Regions from separate parts of the Homo sapiens genome. Here all the other regions are linked to region 1. The links are contacts of gene promoters, found by promoter capture Hi-C in blood cells and fetal thymus (Javierre and others, 2016). All regions are on one chromosome and are shown on one strand. Each heading gives the region's core, a stretch centred on a gene start or on the middle of the fragment in contact. The rest is flanking DNA. Distances are from core to core; before and after follow the strand shown.

Region 1 (4,444 bases), core at 866-3,365:
CACCTGCCTTGGCTTTCCAAAGCGCTGGGATTACAGGTGTAAGCCACCGCGCCCGGCCACTAATGACATTTTTTTTAAAGCTCTGAAGAGCTTTAAAGTTCATACCATCACTTACTTTGTCCAGTTTTCGTGACCGAAGTGCATGGGCGGCTCTGTGATATTGTGCTGTCAGGTAAAGACACTGAGCCAACCAATAGATGTCCTGGGGTTCTTCTGGAGGGAAAAATTCACATAAGTGGTCAGAGGTACAAGGTGAAATAGAAAACGAATTTTAAGATTAATCAGAAAACCAGTTAGCATTTTGTCACTTACCACGAGAGAGTGAAGCTACTTTATCTGCCCAAAATAGAGCACTTTGATACTGTTGCTGCATACCAAAAAAAAAAAAAGGTGGTAACTGCCCTGTTATTTTAATAGTCTTAAACAGTTATCTAATATTATTATAATTCTATGTAATATATTAATATAATTCTATGTAATAAATCTTCATCTCAAGACAACAATTTGTTACATCTCTATCTTACATCTCACGTAGGGTAAATTTTAGTTCAGTGTCGCAATACAAACATTCCTGTAATATCTTTGTATATGCAACTTATGAAGGTAATTTTTTAAAACTCATACACTGTAAAAATGTATCGTGAAACATACAAGTGAAATGCAAGTGAAACAGCAAAAGCTAGTCATTAACAATTCATGTGTGATTTATATAACACTTTCAACGAGCTGTTAATGAATCCCAAAGTGAAATTTAGAAGACAGAACACTATACTCAAATACCTTATATAACACAGTGGCAGTTTTAATAACACTCAAGTTTAAAAACACACACACATAAATTAACTAAGCTTCACTGAACATGGGGAAGAACTCACCTCCTCCAAGTCTAACAAAAATGAAGGAGCCGACAATGAGGGCCACCCACAGTGACCTACGGCTAGCTTTAGACCCTGTTCTGCTCCTCAGTCCTCAGTCTTCTACAGTCTCTGCCTCAGTTCCCCTGGAGACAAGCCAGGACCACTGCTGCTAGCCCGAGGCAGGAGGAATGCCAACGGGATAGTTATAAATATGCTCAATACCGGTGTCTCTGGCTGGAAACCGGGCCTGTCATATTCCTCACTACGTCTCCGTACCGAAGAAAAAGTGATCAGAAAACACTGAATTCAACTGACTCATGGTAAATAAAAACACAGCCCTCCAAATGGACTGCAAACATTTGGCCACGTCAGTTAGCACCCAATTCCGAAAACTCTGCATTACCATGGCTTTTCTTTCCCTTTCTTTCCAATTTCCTGAAAGAGCAAGCATTTCAACAAAAAATAAACAACAATATAGATAAAACTGATGCTGCTGATTCTCGAAGACACTTCTTGCCTTAAACGCTCTCTGCTATTCAAAGGTAGTGCAGAGAACACAGACATAGTTAACGAGAATTTTTAAAGTATTGATTTGAGACAACAGGCTTCTTCACATCTTTATTCACTTAAATTCAGCCCAGTAAAAATTACAACTAAACCTCTCAAAAATGTTTTATTAGCTAGCCCTGCAACTTTCCTCCAAAAATTGTCCTTCAACTTGCACTGAGTAGTCAGTGTTTCCTGGGCACCTCCTCCGCGCCAGGTGCAGAACGAGGCTCAGACCCGACTGAGGCGCCCCGTGCGCTCGGGGGCCTCCACTCCCCGGGCTGTGCCCCTCCCAGCTGCAGGGACCGCTCCCTTCTGGGCGAGGCGGAGACAGCGCTGCTGGCCCCAGATGAAGGCCCAGGGCCGGCCCAGTCCTTCCCCACCAAGAGCCCCGACAACAGTCACCCCAGCCCCACGCCGCGCGGAAAAAGACCCGGCGAGGCCTGGGCCCCGCACCCCGAGTCGGGGCCGCCCACCTGGTCGAGGTACTGCCGGACGCGCTTCCGCAGCCGCTCTAGGTTCATGGCGGCGCGGGCCCGGCCTCACGCCACACTCCGCCGCTAGGCGCGCGCCTCCTGCACCCTAAGCACCCCGCCCCGTGCCCGTGCCCGTGCCTGCAGCCGCCGCCGCCGCCCCAGGACTCGAAGGCCGCGGACTCGAAGGCCGCAGGTCCCCACCCACACCCGCACCCCCCACCCAGGCCCCGTGCACTGCCCAGGCTCTTCCGCTCCAGGCAGGCCCCGCCCCGGAAGTCCACAGCAAACGAATCCCATCTGGCGCGGGAAAACGGACCCGAGTTGTTGGTTCCGATGCCTCTCCTGGCACGTGGGCTTCTGGTTGCCTTGGGGCGAGAGCGCGGCCTCCCTGGAATCGCTGCGGCGCCTCTGGGCATTGGCGAGAGAGTCAGGAGGGCTCGGGGCCGGACCACCCACCCGGGCAAAAAAGCAGGTGGCTGCTGAGCCTTCTTTCCCCAGAATGTAGTCAACATTTTAAAAATAAGAGCAACGCACTCTCATTACAAAAAAAAAAAATTGTGTGCACAAACAGCAAATGAAGTCAAAGACAACCTAGGGAAAAATTTGAAACCTATCACAAAATTCGAATTTCCTTATAATGTAGAGCCAATATTCCCTTTACATATATGTAATAAGTCAGTGGGAAGAGACCAATGGCTCAGGAGAAAGACAGGCAAAAAACAGTTCACAGGGAAAGAAATGCAAATAGACTTTAACATACGAAAGAAAGTCCAACTTAATTCATAATAAAAATTAAAATTAGAGTACCACTTTTCATATGTTAACAAAGATCACAAAGGTTGATGACACTGCTAGCAGGAATGTCGGGAAGCAGGCACCCTCAAGTTTTGTGAGTGGTATTGGTATACTCTCTAGGATGAACGAATTGGAATATCTTCCAAATTTAAAGGTGTTCGTGCTGTTAAACCTAATGATTTTTATTTTGGGAAATATACCATGGATTTGCATTTTTGCATGTGTGCAAAATGACCTGTGGTTTCGTTTGTAATAGCAAAAGATTGCAGACAATTTAAACACCCATGAAGTATGGAACTGAGTAAATAGGTCATGATACGCTCACGTAATGGAATACTCGCTGGCTGTTCAAAAGAACAGTCAGCTTTGCATGGACATTGAACGATCTTCAAGATATAGTATGTGGGAAAAAGCAAGTATAGGATCGTGTTTATCGTATGCCTGCATTTGAGTAAAATACGAATTTAATGATAGGTAGAAAAATCCCTAAACTGTCCCAGGAAGGAAAAATGAGAAAACCGGCATAGCGCAAGGCCTCTGGAAGGAGTGCTGGAAGATGAGAGATGGTAGAAGTGGGAGAGGTACTTCCTTGGATATCTTTTTGTGCTTTTGAATTTCAGTCAATGTGCATATATTACCTTTTGTGAAATTAAATCATTCAAACTTAAAATAATTTAAACTTGAAGCTGTTGGAACTTTGAATTACCTGAGCCTTGAGGGGAATGTGGCTACGCGGCCTAGGTCATGCCACACCCAGCTGTAACTTCTGCCTTTTTCCCTGTAAACAATAAAGACCAAATGGCACCGGAGATAAGACCCCCTCAGATCACTACCCCTCCTCATGGAGTTATAACGCAATCTTCCTTCAAATACAGAGATCCCTAACCAATGGAACCGCTGCGGCGTGTGCCCCTGGTCTCATATGAGAACTGTGGTGATCCTGCTGGAGCTTCTGTCTCCGCCTGGTAAGAGAGACCTGAGCTCCACTTGGAAAGGCTGACCCCATTTGTCCAGGTGGCCATTCTCAGGCTCTGTGCTCAAATACACACTATATGTAATCATATTTCTGAATCTCAATATTAAGGTTGACACTTTTAAAAAGTAAATATAACTTTTATAAATATAAAAACCTAAAAGAGTAAAAAAAATTCAAAGAAGCAAAAAAAAAAAAACTTGCTGTAAAGAATCCCACCCACTCAAAAATTCTCTCACGCTACTGTAAGTAATCTGCCGTGTAATTTTCTATGTGTGTGTATACATATATGACTGGGTAATATTTTGAAGTTGTGTTTAAAAATTTGTCCCCCTGTATATTTCCTTTTCCTCCTCCTTTCCCACTTCTGCAAGCAGGCAGTAATCAACTCTGCTCATTAACTTGGGGCAGGCATGTGGTGAGGTGTGTTTTAAGCCATATTTTCAACGACTTCTATCCATTTAATGAGATTCCTAGTTAACCAAAAATGAGTGACTGAGGCAAATGTCTCCATCAGTAGAAGTCTGATGATGGGCCCGGGAAAAACGCAAGCCACAGAAGCATCAACTGTGCCATCCAAATAGGGTTATGGGGACTGGGTGTTTAGGAGGAGACGGCAAGCAGGAGGAAAAAAAGGGAGGGGTCCACAGTGATGCTCTGATTAGTGCTCAGTAAACCAACAATTTACATAAGATGAGGCAAACATCTGACAAGAGGGAGTAGAGGAAAGAGTTATGTAGCCCATATCAGGGTAGGCAGAAGAGTGACTAATCTCATCTTGTCCTTGTTTTGTACCT
Region 2 (4,444 bases), core at 1,372-3,871, 650 kb after region 1:
GCAGAATCCTACTCTCCTCCCAGCGCCAACCCCCAACTCAGATCACAACCCCTGAGTGCAAGGTGAGCCCCCAGCCCCTGTGCCTATGCAGTTCCTGACAAATGCTGCGTCTCAGGTGCCCACACTGGATGGAGCATTCAGGGTCCTGCAGAGCCGGACCACCTTTCCACACGCCCCCCACCCCCAGCCTCACACTACATGCTGCTCACAGACAGTGCCAGTGAAATCACGGGGGAATGAAAGAGGGCCCCGAAAACACCATCCATTATGTATCAAAGCGTGTTTGAGAACCATCTGAGGAAACCACACAGGAAACCACACAACACCAGAAGCGTGCTCTAACCGAGGCCCTGGGTCCAGCTCCTCACCATGAGGAGATGTAATGAACATGGCTTGCGCGCTGAGCACATGCCCACATCTGGCATTCTGAGTGCATGCCCGCACGAGGTCAGGGCATGGTACGGACAAGCACAGTGGAGAGGATAAAAGTAGTCTCGCAGCACAGCCAGATATGACTTCAAAAACTCACACTGGGTCCACCTGGGTGCTCACACACCCTCTCTAAAGGGGACCCCAGTGCTTGAAGGCAGGGATGCCGTGTGACATGCCTGGTCGCAGGTCAGGGAGGGCAGACACCCCAAAAGGCCTCGCAGGGACCACTGAAACCTCTGCGCCAACGGAGAGGGCTCCACACTCTGGACGCATTTTCGCTACAGATGTATCTCAGGCAGAGGCAGCATGTGCGGACTCTTTCCAACTCTGTGCGGTAAGTAGGTAAACACATCAACAGCACCTTTCACTCAGTTACAAAACGATGCACGGTGGGAAACACTAAAGAATCCAGCTGGTGTTTCAGTGACTGACATAACCAAGCACGGTAAAGAACCGCACACCAATAAAATAGACTAAATTTCTGGCTTTAAAAAATTTTCAAAATATTCTATAGTTTCATGACAACTGCAAAGCAGGCTAAGTAGCATTTTTTACCAGATTTCATAAATCAGGAAATCTCATCCTTCTGAGAAAAAAAGTGGCCAAAACAAGTCCTTAGCTCTTGGTCCACCCAAGTGGAATTAACTTCCTCTGTAGGAAGACAGGTGCCAGCAGGTGGCTACAGCCTGAGCCCTGAGCCTGGCCCCCGTCCAGCGTCTCATGTGGAAGCCCCCCAAGAAATGCAGGATTCGCTGCGGTGCTGCAACACCCTCCACCTCAATTTAATTAAGGCGTTTATTTAAAATTATCAATTAACACAGTCGGTAAAGATAAGGAAAAAGTCAGAAGGCACCACCCCATCACCACCCAACTGCAGTGTGGTATCCAAGGCCACAACTTGTGGGTGGTGACCGCAGCTTCAGAGATCAGATCCTTCCATCTTTCACCTTCATCCCGCTTCAGACGCTTTAAAAGTCTGAAAATAAACACTACTGTAGCTTATGTGTTGTCATTCTGAAATAAAGGCAGAGAACTACAAAGAATTTAGTGCGAGGCAAACATTCGTGTGCAGCATGAAGCAAACATACTTACATCTTTTGCCATGTTACCAGATCCGGGAAATCAATGCTACAAATGTTCACCTTCCCAGAGAAGAAAAATGATTTTTCTGGTAAAAAAAAAAAAAAAAGTAAGGAAAAACAAGAAATAAGTAAGAATGAAAAACGAAGTTTAAAAAATAACACATCTCAAAGGAAACGCGGACCTTCCTTCCCAAAGGCACCCTCCATCCTGAGAGCGGAGCTGGCCAAACCGACTCCCACACTCAGGATTTTCAGTCGCCTCGCCAGACGGAAATGCCCCCTGCGGAAAAGTGGCCCGCGGGCCCGCAGGGTCACCACCACTACCCCCAGGTCCCCGACGGCCCGCCCAGCGGCCGAGGGTGGGGCCGAGCCCCAGGAGCCAGGGCGCAGCGCCTCCCTCCCGCCGCTGCAGGGGGGTGCCCCACCACCCACCTGGGCACAGCCCCGGGGTCCCGGCGCAACGTGCAGGCTCGCGGCGTCCACCCCAGACCCCGGCGGCGCCCGCCCGGCTGACCGGTAACTCTGACAGGTGGGCTTCCGGGGTCCGCGCCGCGCGCCTGTCACTAGGCCTCGGGCCGCCTCCGCACGAGGCGCCTCCCGCGCGCGCCGGAACCGGGTCCCCGCGGGCCGCCGTGGGGCGGCCTCCCCTCCCCCGCCCTGCGCGCTCCGGCCGACCCTGGCCCCAGCCCCGGCCCCGGCCCCGGCCCCACCTCCAGCGTGGGGCGCGGACGCTGCTGTCGGCCGGGAGGGCCGGGCCCGGGACCCCCGCCCCGCGGTCACCTGGGGAGCCCCTACCAGCGCCGAGCGCGCGGGGTCCCCGAGGCACAGGAGCGCGCAGGGCGCGGGAGGGCGCGGGTCGGGGCCGCGCGGCGCCTACACGCGGCCGGGGCAAGGGATGGGGTGGCCGGGGGTCCCGCCCGCACCCCCGGCTCCCGCCCGCGGCTCCCGCGGCATCCCCTGCCCACCCGCACCTGGCTGCCCGGTCCGGCCGCGCGGGCGGGGACGCGGAGAGGGCGCGGTGCGGAGCGCGGGGCGGCGCGGAGAGGCGCGGGCTGGGGCCGGGCCGGGCGGTCCCGGCCGTGGCGGGGTCCCTGCCCTGGGCCGAGTGGCGCCGGGACGCGGGGCTCACCCTGGCCGAGCGTCGGGCCGGCGTGACGTGCGCGCGGCGCGGTGACGTGGGCGGCGGCGGGCCCGCTCCGCGCAGCGCGCCTGCGCGCCTTTTCGCGCCTTCGGCGCCCTCCTCCTCCTCTTCTGCTGCTCCTCGGTCTCCCGCTCCTCCCGCCAGTGCTGCGCGCCCTGGGAGAGCGGGGAGGGGCTGTGCGCGCGTGTCCGTGTGTGCGCGTGCGCGTGCGGAGATGTAGCTGGGGCCTGCGCCGGGACGGGCAGTGCGCGCGCGCGGCGTGCGCTCGGCGGCCAAGGGACTGTGTTTGTGCGCGCCTCTGACTGTGTGTGTCCGGAGAGAGAGGTGGCCGGCTGTGTGCAAGAGTGTGTGTGCACATGGGGGAGCGGGGCCGGCTATGTGCACGAGTGTGTGTGCATGTGGGGGAGCGGGAGCTGGTGTGTGCACGTGGGGGAGCGGGGCCGGCTGTGTGCAAGAGTGTGTGTGCACGTGGGGGAGCAGGGACTAGTGTGTGCACTAGTGCATGTGCACGTGAGGGAGCGGGGACTGGTGTGTGCACTAGTGTGTGTGCATGTGAGGGAGCGGGGACTGGTGTGTGCACTCGTGTGTGTGCATGTGAGGGAGCGGGGACTGGTGTGTGCACTCGTGTGTGTGCATGTGAGGGAGCGGGGACTGGTGTGTGCACTCGTGTGTGTGCATGTGAGGGAGCGGGGACTGGTGTGTGCACTCGTGTGTGTGCATGTGAGGGAGCGGGGACTGGTGTGTGCACTCGTGTGTGTGCATGTGAGGGAGCGGGGACTGGTGTGTGCACTAGTGTGTGCATGTGAGGGAGCGGGGACTGGTGTGTGCACTAGTGTGTGCATGTGAGGGAGCGGGGACTGGTGTGTGCACTAGTGTGTGCATGTGAGGGAGCGGGGACTGGTGTGTGCACTCGTGTGTGTGCATGTGAGGGAGCGGGGACTGGTGTGTGCACTAGTGTGTGTGCATGTGAGGGAGCGGGGACTGGTGTGTGCACTAGTGTGTGTGCATGTGAGGGAGCGGGGACTGGTGTGTGCACTAGTGTGTGTGCACATGGGGCAGCAGGTAGGGGGCCGGGTATGTCAGGATGTGTGTTTGTGTGCAGGGAGCAGAGAGTGCCGGCTGTGTGCGCGAGTGTGGGGGGGGGAGCAGGGACTAGTGTGTGCAGGAGTGTGTGTGCACTTGGAAGAGCGGGGCCGGGTGTGTGCTTGAGTGTGTGTGCTCAAAGAGGAGAGCCAGCTGTGTGTGCGCCTGTATGCACGGAGGAGAGGGGGCCGCTTGTGTGCACGAGTGTGTGTGCACATAAAGGGCCGACTGTGTGTGGGGCTGTGCATGTATGGAGAGCAGGTGTGTGCATAGACGTGTGTATGTGGACACACGGAGGAGAGCAGGTGTGTGTGCGTGCGTGGCACAGAGGCCTCTGCCTCTGCTGGACCCGGTGGCCTCCAAGCCCACGACGGGCCTCCGCCCAGATTCCCAACAATTCTGGGCGTCCTCGGTGCCCACCGGACGCAGCCTGGCCCGGGACTCGGGAGGGAAAGCAGGGACAGGAAAACTCCAGAAACAGTTTCATTGCATGGTGAGCCTGGTGGTCCCGGAGTCTTGGAGACTTAATCCACCCTGGAGGGCCCCGCCGCTAGGGCCAGGCCCGAGCACCCCAGCCAAGGGCGGGCTAGGCCAGAGAAGAGTCCGAAGTTCAGGGCCACAGCAGGCGGCAGAGGCTGGTGCGCGCCGAGGGTAAGGAACATCTACAGAGGACTTGAGGAGCTGACCAAAGGCCTCTCTGCCTGTG
Region 3 (4,444 bases), core at 1,176-3,675, 620 kb after region 1:
ACACAAGACAAAGAGATAAAAGAAAAGGCAGCTGGGCCCGGGGGACCACTACCACCAAGTCGCAGAGACCGGTAGTGGCCCCGAATGCCAGGCTGCACTGATATTTATTGGATACAAGACAAAAGGGAAAGATAAGGAGAGTAAGCCATCTCCAATCACAGGTAAGGCCATGTGGGTCACGCGTCCACTGGACAGGGGGCCCTTCCCTGCCTGGCAGCCGAGGCAGAGAGAGAGAGGAGGCAAAGAGAAAGACAGCTTACGCCATTATTTCTGCATATCAGAGACTTTTAGTACTTTCACTAATTTACTACTGCTATCTAGAAGGCAGAGCCAGGTGTACAGGATGGAACATGAAGGTGGACTAGGAGCGTGACCACTGAAGCACAGCATCACAGGGAGACGGTTAGGCCTCCAGATAACTGCAGGCGAGCCTGACTCATGTCAGGCCCTCCACAAGAGGTGGAGGAACAGAGTCTTCTCTAAACTCCCTTTCCCGGTCTGCTAAGTAGCCGCTGTTTTTCCGTGACACTGAGGCTACCGCTAGACCACAGTCCACCTGGCAACGGACATCTTCCCAGACGCTGGCGTTACCGCTAGACCAAGGAGCCCTCTGGTGGCCCTGTCCGGGCATAACAGAAGGCTCGCACTCGTCTTCTGGTCACTCCTCACTATGTCCCCTCAGCTCCTATCTCTGTATGGCCTGGTTTTTCCTGGGTTATGATTGTAGAGTGAGGATTATTGTAATATTGGAATAAAGAGTAATTGCTACAAACTAATGATTAATGATATTCATATATAATCATATCTAAGATCTATATCTGGAATAACCATTCTTGTTTTATATTTTATTATACTGGAACAGCTCGTGTCCTCGGTCTCTTGCCTCGGCACCTGGGTGGCTTGCCACCCACACCCCACCCCACGGCTGGGGGAGCTGAGCGGATAGCCCCCCATTTGAAAATACATGATACTCTCAGGTGAAGAAAACACAGACTTTCGGGTCACAACAACATCAGGAAAGAAGAACTCCCCGATCTCGCCACACCTTGGGCCTCCCCGGACGGCCGCCCATCCGCAGAGCTGCAGGACCCTGGACCTCCCCACAGGCATCTCCCTTCATTCCCACCAGTTAGCACCAAAATGACTCATGAATCATCGGTGAGACTTTCGAATACATTGCCTTTGCGATCTGAAGTTTCATTTTGGGGCCCTTTACAACCCATGCATTTTTAAAACATCTACTGCTTTTTATGCATTTCTTTAAAATATATTAAACAATGAATTTTGTGCTACATAAGGACACTTAGTAATTTCTCTTAATAACCTAAGTTGGCCAAGACAGATCATTAGGAAGTGATTAAAAAGACATTTGCCTTTTGATTCAACTGGGTTAAATATTAGTATTTTTACCAACCAATGTCAGCACATATTTAAAATTCTCTTCTGGAACTAAAATAAGATGATCTGCTTTGGGAAATTTTCTTCCAAAAATAAAGGTGTGCATCCTAAGAAAAGCAAATATTTACTTTTTTATTGTTTTATATATGTGAAAGGTATTTTCAGAATATTCAATTGAAAAGTAAAGATTGTACATATTCGAAATGTACCAGTGATGATTGGATGCACATATACACGGTGTAATACTTACCAGGGAAAGGCATTTTAAAAGCAAAAATAATATTCTACTATGCAGGGAATGATTTAAAGTACGCAATTAAACACTTTTCAGATTCACATACAGATGAGTAAACACTCAGTTTTCAAGAATATGTAGTTGATTCATTACAAAGATAACATCTTTTAAAATTTGCAAACGAGTCTCTAATTTCAATAAATGTGAAGAAAGAAACAGACCTCTGAGTTCACAAAAGCCAGTGGCACTGTCACTCTCCATCAGCAGCCCAGGCGGCTCTTTCCGTCCTGAACAGCCAGGCCACGGCGCCCGTCCACCAGCACCACAGGTAGCATACACTCAGGCATCCCAGTCTGGGGCTCCCCTTTCCTGCCCCATCAGGGAGTGTGGGTAGGACTCAGGGATTCAGGTGGTGGTGGGGCTGTGGGACAGCAGTGTAGCTGAGACCCTCGGGGCATCCGGCCTGCCCTCCATCTGCTCCACCCACAGGCCGGCCGGCTGGCCTGCCTACACCATCTGTCCTTCCAACCAGGTCTCTCCCTCTGGGCCAGAGGCCAGCACCGTGAGGCTGGGGTGGGTCGCTAAGGGTTTTCACAATTAGGAAGGGGGAGACAAACACACAGAGGGAAGAGGGTCCCTCCTCTGGTACCCAGGGCAGGATGAGTGAATGCAGGCAGACATCCAGGGCCCCTGAGCTTCCCCACTCACTCCTGCTGTCCACCTGGAGTCTGAGCCCCCACACCAGCTGCAGGTAAAGGGTTTCGGAGCCCAAGGCCTTGCCAAGCACAGAGGGCCCCTCCCAGCCTAGACACAAACCAACAGAGGACCTCTGAGTGGCACACCACACCAACCCAGCAGCACCCCTGGGTCACCAGCTGAGTCTCTACGGGACAGAGGGCAGGGTACGTACATCAGTAACAGGGAGAAGAAAGAAATCCTGAGGCTGAGGGTGAATACCCCCTGTCCGGCCCCGAGCAGCACTTCAGAAGGGCCTGGAGATAGGGGCTGAGCTTGCACAGCCACCCGACCACAGCGAGCAGCAAGGCCCCTCCCTGAATACATCTCAGACCCACACCCAGACGTACAGGCTGGAAAGGGCAGTGGCAGTGGCTTCTGGGGCCAGACCTGGGTGGGTGGGCTTCTTCTTTTTTTTTTTTTTTTTTTGTTTTTTTTTTGAGATGGAGTCTCACTGTGTCGCCCAGGCTGGAGGGCAGTGACATGATCTCGGCTCACTGCAAGCTCCGCCTCCCGCGTTCCAGCGATTCCCCTGCCTCAGCCTCCTGAGTAGCTGGGACTACAGGCACCTGCCACCACACTGGCTAACTTTTGTATTTTTAGTAGAGAAGGGTTTCACCATGTTGGCCAGGCTGGTCTTGAACGCCTGACCTCTGGTGATCCGCCTGCCTCGGCCTCCCAAAGTGCTGGGATTACAGGTGTTAGCCACTACGCCCAGCCGGGCTTCTTGTTTCTATTCACTGAGAAACTTTTCAAATACAAACAATAACATGACAATTTTATTCCAGTACACTTAAAATTCACTGTTATCATCATACTTGCTTCAAGTTTCATAGAGACATAAAGAGCAGAAATAAAATTACAGTCCCCAGGATCCTCAGCCTCCCCCCGAGTCTGCCCTGTGTGCAACTCCCAGGGCCTGCAGGGACGTACTCACTTTATTTTTCATACTTTTCCAGGATGTGCTGAACCTAAGGCTATAAATGATTGTTTTTGTGTGCGTCTGAAACACAGACAAATATTATATGGCTCGCATTCTGCAATTCTGCCAACATTGTGTTTCAGATTTACCCATACATAGAGCCGTCAGGCTGATTTCCTTAAATGCTGTTATGCTATGCCATTATAATAAAGTGGTCATATGAACACAGATGTCATATGAAAATGCTGTTTGTTATTACTGAACCACATGCTGTGTGTTTTCCTCGGCACACCTGCCACCAGGGAAGCCCGGGTCCCAGCGGCCGCTGTCCCAGAGTCCACCCAGCTCCCCAAGTGGTCATTCCAGGCCAGACGCACCAGTGGCAGCCAGGCTGCCGCTCCCCACCACTTTTTTTGTCCACCTCAGGATAGAATGTTATTTCAATTAGTAGTAGTAGTTGTTGTTTTTGAGACAGGGTCTCACTCTGTCACCCAGGCTGGAGTGCAGTTGTAGAATCTCAGCTCACTGCAACCTCCACCTCCCGGTTCAAGGGATCCTCCCACCTCAGCCTCCCAAGTAGCTGGTACTACAGGCTCGCACAACCATACCCGGCTAATTTTTGTATTTTTTGTAGAGACAGAGTTTCGCCACATCACCCAGACTGGTCTTGAACTCCTGAGTTCAAGCGATCCACCCGCCTTGGCCTCTCAAAGTGCTGGGACTACAGGTGTGAGCCACCACGCCCAGCCAATCATTTAGTTTTAATCTGGCAATATAAGTAGAGTAGAGTGTTCCACACATTTTCTTGATAAGACTGCCACACAATCTATGCATGGGAGGGAGGAGGGCTAACATTTCAGGGACAAGCTGAGTCACATGAAGACATGGCCCACAAGCCAACTCAATAGAAATAATATTGTTTCAACTGTAAAAGGCACTACACAGCGTTTTTCAAATGAACTAATTAAAAACATTTTATATACAGCATTTTAAATGGAGAATTCCTTTCTTGGGAAGAAAACTAGTTAAGAATATATATGGTCTCAGTTGCTATAATCCATTAACAGAAAAAGGAGTCTAAATATAGTATTCACGTTTTTATCATTACTAATCCTATTCTATTAATATCTATAGGGCTTAAGATAAATTATGAA

The links. The method cuts DNA at HindIII sites, captures the fragments that hold promoters and counts their contacts. A CHiCAGO score of 5 or more calls a contact.
Region 2: a contact is called between the fragment with the promoter of TFDP1 here and the fragment with the promoter of CDC16 in region 1, in 1 of 17 cell types (M0 macrophages). The highest score is 5.4, in M0 macrophages.
Region 3: a contact is called between a fragment that was not itself captured here and the fragment with the promoter of CDC16 in region 1, in 1 of 17 cell types (M0 macrophages). The highest score is 5.2, in M0 macrophages.

Annotation. Positions count from the first base shown.
Region 1 is chr13:114,232,568-114,237,011 of GRCh38, reverse strand. It overlaps CDC16 (cell division cycle 16), which reads right to left and starts at 2,115. Exons shown (of 18, transcript NM_001078645.3): 1 at 1,880-2,115; 2 at 313-367; 3 at 116-213. The coding sequence starts at 1,927. RefSeq lists a silencer at 1,797-2,156 and an enhancer at 2,267-2,316. The HindIII fragment of the contact is 7,021 bases long and covers 851-4,444 here.
Region 2 is chr13:113,582,930-113,587,373 of GRCh38, reverse strand. TFDP1 (transcription factor Dp-1) reads right to left here and starts at 2,621. Exons shown (of 12, transcript NM_007111.5): 1 at 2,486-2,621; 2 at 1,525-1,600. The coding sequence starts at 1,536. RefSeq lists enhancers at 249-849, 2,827-3,798, 3,799-4,444 and silencers at 1,789-2,158, 2,529-2,858. The HindIII fragment of the contact is 39,044 bases long and covers 1-4,444 here.
Region 3 is chr13:113,617,835-113,622,278 of GRCh38, reverse strand. The region is part of intron 3 of TFDP1 (transcription factor Dp-1); the gene reads right to left. Among named protein-coding and RNA genes, the nearest start is that of TFDP1, 35 kb to the right of the region's middle. RefSeq lists an enhancer at 4,441-4,444. The HindIII fragment of the contact is 6,326 bases long and covers 1-4,444 here.